4 separate regions of the Homo sapiens genome follow, and regions 1, 2 and 3 are each linked to region 4. The links are contacts of gene promoters, found by promoter capture Hi-C in blood cells and fetal thymus (Javierre and others, 2016). All regions are on one chromosome and are shown on one strand. The core of a region is centred on a gene start or on the middle of the fragment in contact, and the rest is flanking DNA. Distances in the headings are between cores, read along the strand shown. Region 1 overlaps GPR155 (G protein-coupled receptor 155). Region 2 overlaps GPR155 (G protein-coupled receptor 155). Region 3 has its middle 11 kb from the start of GPR155-DT. Region 4 holds the start of WIPF1-AS1 (WIPF1 and CHRNA1 antisense RNA 1).

What was found. The method cuts DNA at HindIII sites, captures the fragments that hold promoters and counts their contacts. A CHiCAGO score of 5 or more calls a contact.
Region 1: a fragment that was not itself captured here is called in contact with the fragment with the promoter of WIPF1-AS1 in region 4 in 1 of 17 cell types (non-activated CD4 T cells); the score reaches 5.4 in non-activated CD4 T cells.
Region 2: a fragment that was not itself captured here is called in contact with the fragment with the promoter of WIPF1-AS1 in region 4 in 8 of 17 cell types (non-activated CD4 T cells, activated CD4 T cells, naive CD4 T cells and 5 more); the score reaches 9.5 in non-activated CD4 T cells.
Region 3: a contact is called between a fragment that was not itself captured here and the fragment with the promoter of WIPF1-AS1 in region 4, in 3 of 17 cell types (activated CD4 T cells, non-activated CD4 T cells and total CD4 T cells). The highest score is 6.1, in activated CD4 T cells.

Annotation. Positions count from the first base shown.
Region 1 is chr2:174,447,675-174,450,683 of GRCh38, reverse strand. All of the region lies in intron 11 of GPR155 (G protein-coupled receptor 155), which reads left to right. Among named protein-coding and RNA genes, the nearest start is that of GPR155, 38 kb to the left of the region's middle. The HindIII fragment of the contact is 7,677 bases long and covers 1-3,009 here.
Region 2 is chr2:174,479,944-174,482,811 of GRCh38, reverse strand. It overlaps GPR155 (G protein-coupled receptor 155), which reads left to right. Exons shown (of 16, transcript NM_152529.7): 2 at 825-1,315. The coding sequence starts at 856. Among named protein-coding and RNA genes, the nearest start is that of GPR155, 5.7 kb to the left of the region's middle. The HindIII fragment of the contact is 395 bases long and covers 1,189-1,583 here.
Region 3 is chr2:174,496,546-174,499,385 of GRCh38, reverse strand. No RefSeq gene overlaps it. Among named protein-coding and RNA genes, the nearest start is that of GPR155-DT, 11 kb to the right of the region's middle. The HindIII fragment of the contact is 1,744 bases long and covers 508-2,251 here.
Region 4 is chr2:174,573,913-174,576,644 of GRCh38, reverse strand. It overlaps WIPF1-AS1 (WIPF1 and CHRNA1 antisense RNA 1), which reads right to left and starts at 1,418. Exons shown (of 2, transcript NR_199010.1): 1 at 1,216-1,418. It overlaps WIPF1 (WAS/WASL interacting protein family member 1), which reads left to right. Exons shown (of 8, transcript NM_001375834.1): 4 at 1,265-1,441. The HindIII fragment of the contact is 9,595 bases long and covers 1-2,732 here.

The DNA.
Region 1 (3,009 bases), core at 169-2,668, 130 kb after region 4:
TTTTTCTTTGCTTTTGCTCCCATATATAGAATGGAGCTAAGGTAGAAAAACAAAGGCTTCCTGTGAAAAGTCCCTCACCTCTATTTTTGGCCAGAAAAGAGTCATGCCTGTGACTTGTGTTTGTATCCATATGTGAACAAAACATGGCATATAATACTTTTATGGTTCCTCAAAGGTGTTTCCTAAGGCAAAGTTTTTTTCAACTTTTACTTTAGATTCAGTGGGTACGTGTGCAGTTTTGCTACCTGGGTATATTATGTGATGCTGAGGTTTGGGGTACAAACAAATGATCCCATCACCCAGGTACTAAGCATAGTACCCAGTAGTTTTTTAGCCCTTGCCCTCTCCCTCCTTTCCACCTCTCGTAGTCCCCAGTTTCCATCATTACCATCTTTATGTCCATGAGTATCTGATGTTTAGTTCCCACTTATAAGTGAGCACATGCAGCACTTGGTTTTCTGTTTCTGTGTTAATTCACTTAGGATTATGGCCTCCAGATGCATCCGTGTTGCTGCAAAGGACATTATTTCATTCTTTTTTTTTTTTTTTCAAGACAGGATCTGGTTCTGCCACCCAGGCTGGAGTGCACAGCTCACTGCAACTGTTGCCTTCTAGGCTCAAGCCATCATCCCACCTCAGCCTACCAAGTAGCCAGGACTACGGACGTGTGCAACCACGCCTGGCTAATTTTTGTTTTGTTTTGTTTTTGAGATGGAGTCTCGCTCTGTCGTCCAGGCTGGAGTGCAGTGGCACGATCTTGGCTCACTGCAACCTCCGCCTCCCAGGTTCAAGCAATTCTCCTGTCTCAGCCTCCCGAGTAGCTGGGACTACAGGCACCTGCCACCATGCCCGGCTAATTTTTATATTTTTAGTAGAGACGGGATTTCACCATATTGGTCAGGCTGGTGTCAAACTCCTGACCTCAGGTGATCTGCCCACCTCAGCCTCCCAAAGTGCTAGGATTACAGGCGTGAGCCACCGCATCCGGACTTGTTTAGTTTTTTAGAGACAGGGTTTCGCCATGTTGCCCAGGCTGGTCTCGAACTCCTGAGCTCAAGCGATCTGCCCGCCTTGTCCTCCCAAAGTTCTGGGACTACAGGCATGAGCCACTGTGCCTGGCCTATTTCATTCTTTTTATGGCTACATAGTATTCCATGGTATATATGTAGCACATTTTCTTTATCCAGTCCACCATCGATGGGCACCTAGTTTGATTCCATGCTTTGCTGTTGTGAGTAGTGCTGTGATGAACATGCAAGTGCATGAGTCTTTTGGTAGAACCATTTTTTTTCTTTTGGATATGTACCCAGTAATGGGATTGCTGGGTCATATGGTAGTCCTGTTCTAAGTTCTTTGAGAAATCTCCAGGCTGCTTTCCACAGTGACTGAACTAATTTACATTCCCACCAATGGTATAAAGCATTCCCTTTTCTCTACAGCCTCACCAGCATCTGTTGTTTATTGATTTTTTAATAATAGCCCTTCTGACTGATGCAAGACGGTATCTCATTGTGGTTTTGATTTCTCTGATGATTAGTGATGTGCAGCATTTTTTCATGTTTGTTGGCCGCTTGTATGTCTTCTTTGAGAAGTGTCTGTTCATGTCTTTTGTGCATTTTTTAATGGAGTTATTTGTGTTTTGTTTGTTCAATTGTTTAAGTTCCTTATAGATTCTGGATATTAGGCCTTGTTAGATGCATAGTGTGCGAATATTTTCTCCCATTCTGTAGGTTGTCTGTCTACTCTGTTCATAGTTTCTTCTGCTATGCAGAAGCTCTTTAGTTTAATTAGGTCCCACTTGTCAATTTTTGGTTTTGTTTTTGTTTTTACCTTAAAACTTCCCAGTAGGCCGGGCGCGGTGGCTCACGCCTGTAATCCCAGCACTTTGGGAGGCCGAGGCGGGTGGATCATGAGGTCAGGAGATCGAGACCATCCTGGCTAACAAGGTGAAACCCCGTCTCTACTAAAAATACAAAAAATTAGCCGGGCGCAGTGGCGGGTGCCTGTAGTCCCAGCTACTCGGGAGGCTGAGGCAGGAGAATGGCGTGAACCCGGGAAGCGGAGCTTGCAGTGAGCCGAGATTGCGCCACTGCAGTCCGCAGTCCGGCCTGGGCGACAGAGCGAGACTCCGTCTCAAAAAAAAAAAAAAAAAACAAAAAACAAAAAACAAAAAACTTCCCAGTATAGTGTTTTTGTTACAATTGCTTTTGAGGACTGAGTCATAAATTCTTCCCAAAGGTCGATGTCCAGAATGGTGTTTCCTAGGTTTTCTTCTAGGATTCTTATAGTTTGAGGCATTACTTTTTTTTGAGACACAGTCTTGCTCTGTTGCCCATGCTGGAGTGCCATGGCACGATGTTGGCTCACTGTAACCTCTGCTCCCAGGTTCAAGCAATTCCCTTGCCTCAGCCTCCCAAATAGCTGGGATTACAGGCGGCCGCCACCATGCCTGGCTAATTTTTGTATTTTTAGTAGAGACAGGGTTTCACCATGTTGGCCAGGCTGGTCTTGAACTCCTGACCTCAAGTGATCCGCCCATCTCAGCCTCCCAAATTGCTAGGATTACAGGCGTGAGCCACCGTGCCTGGCTGAGACATTACATTTAAATCTTAGTCCATCTTGAGTTAATTTTTGTATATGGTGAAAGGCAGGGGTTAAGGCAAATTGTAAACTCTTTAATGAGAGGTTAAGAGATAATAATAATTTGTTTCACAGTTAGCCAAAATAGGGTATTCATGACTAATATGTAGATTTATCAGTGATAAAACTTGAGTTATTAATTCGGCCTTTAAAATTATATGTATATAATTTTAATATATACAATATAAAAATAAAAATATATATTATATACTTTTTCAACCTTTGTCCCCCTTCCTCCCTCCTCACCTCTAGTAGTCCCCAGTTCCTATTGTTGCCATCTTTATGTCCATGAGTATCTGATATTTAGCTCCCACTTATAAGTAAGCACATGCAGTACTTGGTTTTCTGTTCCTGTGTTAATTCACTTAG
Region 2 (2,868 bases), core at 137-2,636, 94 kb after region 4:
TTAATTCGTTCAGGTCGGGCACAGTGGCTCATGCCTGTAATCCCAGCACTGTGGGATGCTGAGGCAGGCAGATCACCTGAGGTCAGGAGTTCAAAACCAGCCTAAGCAACATGTCGCTACAAAAATACAAAAATTAGCCGGGCGTGGTGGCACACGAATCGCTTGAACCCAGGAGACAGAGGTTGCACTGAGCTGAGATTGCACCACTGCACTCCAGCCTGGGAGACAGAGCAAGACCCTGTCTTTAGAAAAAAAAGTTATTGGTTTAAAGTTGATTAGTAGTGCTCTACTATACCCTTCTTCCCATCCTATATTCAAATATGACCACGGGCTGGAAAGGACTCTGGTCCCTGGGTGACTCCTCAATGTAGCCTTGAGAACTTCTGAAATTTCCAGAGAATTTGGATGCATGGGGACATTCAGCGGAGACTATGTGTGCCCGATGCCCTTATCCACCAGGCGGAGCTCAATTGATGGAGAGAATCACTGGAGAGAACCACAGGGCATCACTGCAGCTCTAATATTTGCGGATCTTATTTTACTCATGTCTAATACTGAGTATAGAACTTAGCAACATAAATATTTTGAGCTGACCTGCCTTTGAGAGTGAAGCGATTATTGTTAGCAACCCCCCACTTTTTTTTCCATTGTATTTTCCCTGATGGTATGTATATTTATTTGGCCATTGAATAAGTAAATAAATCTAGGGGTATGTATATTTATTTGGCCATTTAATAAGTAAACAAATCTAGGTTTGCCAGTGTATTATTTCAACTAGAATTCTTGTTGATGGCCATACTGAATCTTTCTTCCTTTCTTTCCAGAGATCTGGTTGGAGTTGGAGGGTGAGAGAAAATGAATTCTAATTTACCTGCAGAGAACTTAACCATTGCAGTCAATATGACCAAGACTTTGCCTACAGCAGTAACGCATGGATTTAATTCCACTAATGACCCACCTTCAATGTCAATTACAAGGCTTTTTCCAGCCTTACTGGAATGCTTTGGCATTGTCCTTTGTGGCTACATAGCAGGAAGGGCCAATGTCATAACATCAACCCAGGCCAAAGGACTAGGAAATTTTGTCTCCAGATTTGCACTTCCAGCTTTATTATTCAAAAACATGGTTGTACTTAATTTTTCCAATGTGGACTGGTCCTTCCTATATAGTATCTTAATTGCCAAAGCTTCTGTATTTTTCATTGTATGTGTATTAACCTTATTGGTTGCCAGTCCTGATAGTCGATTTAGCAAAGCTGGACTATTCCCTATTTTTGCTACACAAAGTAATGACTTTGCATTGGGATACCCTATAGGTAAGTTAATTTTTATTTTTCAAGTGTTTAAAAAATTCAATTTTAATTTATTTAGGCATTTGTTAGTAACAGATTCTTACTCTCATATCTAAGAAGTTTTTCATTTTTTTCTCAAATATGTCTTAGGATGAATCATAGTTTTTCCTAAACTTCAGAGTTTGAGGATCCTTTAAACATCTACCTAAAATAAACGGTCATATTCTAATAACCACTGTGAACAGTCCTAATTGTATTTTTTTCTTCCCGGTAAGCACATATGAAAGAAGCTTAATTTTTAGAAAGGATCCAATTGTGATTTAAATTATGTTAAAAAAGTAGATTTATGTCTATATAAAAATAGTTATTATTAAGTGTTTGTGAAAGGAATTTATTTTTCCTACCATCTAGAATATGTATTATTTTATATCAGAAATTGTTCTGGGGCCAGATGTGGCTCACACCTATAATCCCAGCACTTTGGGAGGCCGAGGGGGGCAGATCACTTGAGCCTAGGAGTTCGAGACCAGCCTGGGCAACAGGGTGAAACCTCGTCTGTATAAAAAAATAACAACAACAAAAAATTAGTCAGCTGTGGTGGCACAAGGCTGTAGTCCCAGCTACCCAAGAGGCTGAGGCAGGAGGATTGCTTGAGCCCAGGAGGCAGAGGTTGCAGTGGGTCAATATTATACCACTGTACTCCAGCCTGGGTGACAGAGTGAGACCCTGTCTCAAATTTAAAAAAAAAAATTGTTTTTGAGCTTGTTATTCAAAATTTTAATGTATTTTAGTTGCAGTTAATTTCTTGTTTAAGAAAAAAAATGGTGAGAGCTTTTTTACCTTTCTAACTTTTCCTTTTTTATGTTTCTGACTCTTTCAGCAGCCTAATTTTATGTTTCTATGTGTATATGTTTTACTAATGAAACAGTAAACGTACCAGTTTGGGATATTGACATATCTTGAAAGGAAACATTCTATATTTCAGAACACTCTGTCACCAAGAAAATGTATATTTTAAATTACTTTTTTATATTTTAAATTAAAGTTATATATACTTTGATCATCTATCAAGTATGAGGACTTGAATATTATAGATATATTCATTCATTCATTCATTCACTCACTCATAAGGAACTGTTTCGTACCAGTGGCTGTGCTGACTGTTGGGATTATAGCTGTGAACAAAGTTATTGCACATATTAAATTTACATTGTAATGGGAGAATAATAAAATTAAAATCATGTCAGGTGGTGACAAGGGCCATAAAAATAAAGTCACGTAGAAGGATAGGAATGTGGAGGTGCTATTTGAGGTAGGGTGGTCAATGAAGGCCTCTCTGATGATATGTCTTCTGAGCAGAGACTTGAGCCTATTGAAGGATACAATTGAAATCTACAATTAACTTTCAAGTTTCTTACCTAGCAGTTTTATCCTTTCCCCTCAAACCCCAACTTATTTCACTGCTGGTACCAAAAAGATTCTATTTAACTATACTTTTCACTTCTGTCTCTACTTTTGACTTTCCTCTATCTTGTTACCAGAAAGAGAGAAACACCTAAGAAGTTAAATAACTGTCA
Region 3 (2,840 bases), core at 130-2,629, 77 kb after region 4:
CCTCCCCAGTAGCTGGGATTACAGGCAGGTGCCACCACGCCCAGCTAATTTTTGTATTTTTAGTAGAGGCGGGGTTTCACCACGTAGGCCAGACTGGTCCCAAACTCTTGAAGTCAGGTGATCCACCCGCCTCGGCCTCCCAAAGAGCTACTATTACAGGCATGAGCCACCGCACCCAGCCAGAAGTAACACTTCTTATAGTGGACAGCAGGGAAGTCGGTTGCTGGTGAGGAGGGGAATCATCCCTCGAACCCACCAAACTATCAGAGTCACTTGGTGGGAGGAAAATAGGTCTTCCTACAAAGGATGGGCCTACTCAGCCCAGGGTAGCCTAACACAGGTCACACCTTTGAAAACAGATGATTTCGTATCTATGGAAATGCCTCCTTTGCTAGAGGACTGTCATCAAGACCATTTGAGTATGTGGAGCTCTCATAATGGTTTGGCTTTACCAGTACAAGCAATAGTCTCCACCAGGTAACAGCGGGTCAGGTAAGGCTAGAAGCTTACTCGTATCAGCTTGAGGTGATATTAGGGATCACGAAGTCCCTCTGATTCTGAGTGTACAAGTGAGCCAAGTCAATAATAGAGCAGCACCACTGGGGCAGGCAGAAGACAGGAGGTGATAGATATTCACAGAGCGGCACAAGGGCTGGAGCCCAAAGTGCAACAACCAGTTCCAAAGTTGAGCCAAGGACCTAAGGGAGCAGGTGGACATGGGAGGCTGGAGCCATAGCAGGGTTCAGCTGTGTGGGACACCTAGGAACTGTATCCAAGGATTTCTTTCTTATATTATTTTTAATTTTTTTTAATTTAATTTTTTTTGGAGACAGACCATCACTCTGTCACCCAGACTGGAGTGCAGTGGTGCAATCATAGCTTGCTGCAGCCTCAAACTGCTGGGCTCAAGTGATCCTCCCACTTCAGCCTCCTGAGTAGCTAGGACTACAGGAGTGTACCACCAAAGAGTTCTGTCTTTGAGATGACTTTGTTTTTTGGAGACAAGGCTTCACTGTGTCTTCCATGCTGATCCTGAACGCCTGGCCTCAAATGATCCTCCTGCCTTAGCCTCTTGAGTTACTGGGATTACAGGAATGAAACACCTCACCTCACTCTGAGTGGTTGGCTACTTATTAGCCATGACATGGGACTGTGAAGTGACTTTTCTTCAAGGGCATCTTCAAGGTCCTGCTAGATATTTGACAAATATATGATAAGCATATCTGTGCTAGACATTTGACAAACATGTGATAAGTTTATCCACAACATGGCTACTGGCCATTAGACCACACATACTGCATTTGCTCACTCTTCTCAAGGTTTAAGGCCTCATCTCTTCAGTATCTCTGGAGGGTTGGCTTTAAGATAATTTATATTTCCATTAGCTGATACTGCTCTTACTGCTCTGCTACCTTTTCTTTTTTTGAGACAGAGTCTCGCTCTGTCACCCAGGCTGGAGTGCAGTGGCATGGTCTTGGCTCACTGCAACCTCCACCTTCCAGGTTCAAGTGATTCTTCTGTCTCAGCCTCCCAAGTAGCTGGGATTACAGGCATGTGCTACCATGCCCAGCTAATTTTTGTATTTTTAGTAGAGACAGGGTTTCACCATGTTGGCCAGGCTGGTCTAGAACTCCTGACCTCAAGTAATCCACCTGCCTTGGCCTTCCAAAGTGAGTTACAGGTGTGAGCCACCGCACCTGGCCCTTTTTTTTTTTTTTTAAATAAATAGAGACAGGGTCTCAGTGTGTTGCCAAGGCTGGTCTCAAACTCCTGGGCTCAAGCAATCCTCCCACCTTGGCCTCCAAAGTGCTAGGATTACAGGTGCAAGCCACCACACCCAGCCATCTGCTATCTTCTTTTACCACATTTTATAAATTTTAAAATCTCTTTGAACACTCCTATTTCACTTTATTCTACATTGAGAGTTTTTTGATCCAGACTCTAGCAGGAGCTGCAGAAGTATTATTCTCTGTGGGACAGAAACTTTGTACATTCTGGATCTAGAGTGGGGCTCTAATAACAGATGAGAATTGAAAAATGATACAAAGAAAAACAATTTTACAAAACATTTAGCTTTTAGAAGAAAACGTAGGTAAATATCATTATGACCTTGATGCAAGGAAGGATTTCTTTAAAAGATACCAAATGCACAAACTATAAAGGAAAAGATTATTAAAAAGCCAAATTTTAGAAAATAACATCTCTGAAGAAAGATAAGAGGAATTATAATTGTTTCTCAAAAACCAAAGCTTTAAGAGATGGTGAAAAGACTACACTGGGGTTTTACTACATAATCGACAACACATTCAATGTATTGGCTTAGTTATTGAATGTGTCAGAATATTACCTCACCTAGTTTTACCTATAATGTGAACTTTCTAACTGGGGTTTGGAAATGACATCATAGTGAAGACATGGTGTATATGTACAAGGAATGAAGACAGCCAACTGGTTTGTTTTGTTTTTCTTCACAAAGAGCAAATCAAAAGAAATGGGTTTCACATGAGGAACAATGTCATAGGAAAACAGTTACTGAAATGGATTTCTAATGGAAAATGCCAGACTCAATGTGCCCTTTTTTAATGATGAAAACATATTTCTCCCAATGAGCACTGAGACCATAGAAAAATTTTTTTGCCCTCCTCTAAGATAAATATTCCTACTTACTCTTAAGACAGACTTACAGGCTGGCCATGGTGGGTTACACCTATAATCCCAACACTTTGGGAGGCCAAGGCAAGAGGACTGCTTGAAGTCAGGAGTTTAAGACCGGTCTGGTCACCATAGCCAGACGCTGTCTCTACAAAAAAAAAATTAGCTGGGTGTGGTGGCGCACACCT
Region 4 (2,732 bases), core at 169-2,668:
TTGTTTGCCTCCCATCAAAATCTTTCACAATTTTTTGCAGATAAATTCAAAATAAAACAAGATCTTTATACCCTCTCAAATTGCAAAGAATGTTTAAATTACTAAAGCCTACTATTGGGCTTCATGATATTAAAAAATTAATAGCAATCTAAAGGGCCATCAAATGAGTAGTTAAATAAATTTTAATGTAATACATTCATGTTCTACAATACAATAGAATCCTTTAAACTCATGTTTTCAAAGAGTATGACACAAGAAGTGCTAACAAAGTGTTAAATGAAAAAAGCAGGCTTAATACTGCTTAGTGAATTTGTTCTTAATTTTAAGAAAAAACACATAAAATGAAAAATACTGATGGGAAAAAGTATAACTCAATTGTGGATATTTGCTTAGTGTTTTTTTTTTTTTTTTTTTGCTGGAGTGCAGTGGTGCAATCATAGCTCACTGCAGCCTCAGTGGGTTCAAGTGATCCTCTCACTCAGCCTCTTAAGTAGCTGGGACTACAGGTGTGCACCACCATGCCTGGCTACATTTTGTTGTTGTTGTTTATTTTCGTAGAGACGAGGTCTCACTTTGTTGCCCAGGGTGGTCTCAAACTTCTGGGGCCTAAGCTATCCTCCAGTCTCAGCCTCCCAAAGTGCTGGTATTATAGGTGTGAGCCACTGTGCCTAGCCTGGATATTTGTATATTTGTGAAATTATGAGATATTTTATTTTCTTTTCTTTTTAACTCTTTCCTTTCTTCTCGCCTTTTATGGCATCTCCTCCTCCCTTGCGACCCTCTTTCTTTGAAGATCCTTTTTACTGAGACAGGGTCTCACTGTCACCCAGGCTGGAGTGCAGTGGCACAGTCTTGGCTCCCTGCAGTCTTGACCTCCCTGGCTCAAGCGATCCTCCCACCTCAGCCTCCCAAAGTGCTGAGATTACATGTGTGAGCCACTGCACCCAGCCTGAAGATCCTTCTATTTGCCAAATCTTAGGATACGGAACAAACAGATACTGACCCATGTGGCAGCCAGTCAAGTGGGGAGTGTGGGGACAAATCATCCTTTATTTTCGTTTCTTCCACCACTGGGCTTGGGACTGCCTGGAGCGGGCAGTTCTGACTGAGCTGAGGGAACTCTTAAAATCCTGCATTTTAATGAAGAAATCCCAGTTGTCCACTGGAGGCCGAGAGCCGGCCAGCTCCCTGTTGTACTGTTGTTTTATGGTTTACCTGGGCCAGACCAGGGGGCATAGTCTGTCGGGTGTCTCTTCTTCTACAGAACCTAAAGGAGCTGGTGCTGGAGGCGGTGGTGGTGGCTTTGGTGGAGGCGGCGGATTTGGCGGAGGAGGTGGTGGCGGAGGCGGTGGAAGTTTTGGAGGGGGCGGACCTCCAGGTCTGGGAGGATTGTTCCAGGCTGGAATGCCGAAGCTGAGATCCACGGCCAACAGGGATAATGGTAAGGAGAGTTTCCCTGTCTCTGAGTGACTGAAGACAAGGCAGAGTTTGGCAGTTTGGAGGCTGGTCATAGCCTCTAAGGCTCTTCGCCCTTATTAAAATATTGTACATTGTTTTAAATATTACCACTGTTTTATAAGAGACTCAATTTAGGCTTTATTATTATTATTAACCAGGATCAGACAGCTACACAGAACTATGAAATTTTCACCCAGTGTCTTTGGGGGTAACCTGTACATTTTTTTTTTTTTACTTTTCTAAAGGGTTAGCTGGAGTGGGAAGAAAAGGGAGGAGCAAATAGAACTTGCTGGCCCTGGAAATCTGCCTGGTGACCTGACAGATTCAGCTTTCTTTGTGAGGTAGCCCAGCTGTCTAGTAGAGTAAATACTTGTGAGCCGCTTTTCAAACACGATGGAGCACATCTTGTGGAATATGATTACAAATCTCACTAAATCTGAAAAAGTGTTTTGCATGACAGATATTTGGTATTTCAGTGCCAGTGGTTCTCAGGAGTCTCTGCAGGGAGCCATGGACATGAGTCCTTCAGGATTGTCTATGAACCTGATGGTAGAAAAAAACTGAACTTGCTCATGAATGCCTAGATAAAAAACTTTGCAGAGGGCATGAGGCTCTCTCCCAGCTACTACAGAAACTCAAGAAATTTTACCATAAAACTGCTTTTGTAATGTTGATCATGTTATAATAATTTTCATTTTTAGACCTTTTATAAGATGTCCCCTGGGAAAGAATGAAACTCTCACATTTACATGAATATGGAATCACTGAATCCTCAGGGTTAGCCTACTATTTTATCACTGAATGGTCCAAATCTAGAGAGAAACTCAGTCACATGAGAGGTTCTATCTTGCCAGACCACCATTTAAATTTGAATTTAAATTTATTTAAAACTCACCAAAAGGATTTAAGGCAGCTGATAAATGTATACATTTAGTACTTTAACAACAGGTGAAGAAATTAAGGCAAAAGACAAAGAAAAATAAAATAATAAAATGGGCCAGGCATGGTGGCTCACACCTATAATTCCAGCACTTTCACAGGTCAAGGCAGGCAGATGGCTGAAGCCCAAAAATTCAAGAACAGCCTGGGCAACATGGCAAAATCCTGTCTCTACTAAAAAAAAACAAAAAGTTAGTGGGCATGGTGGCTCTTGCCTGTAGTCGCAGCTACCCAGGAGGCGGAGGTGGGAGGATTGCCTGAGCCCAGGAAGTTGAAGCTGCAATGAGCCGTGATTGCACCACTGCACTCCAGCCTGGGCAACAGAGGAGGCACTG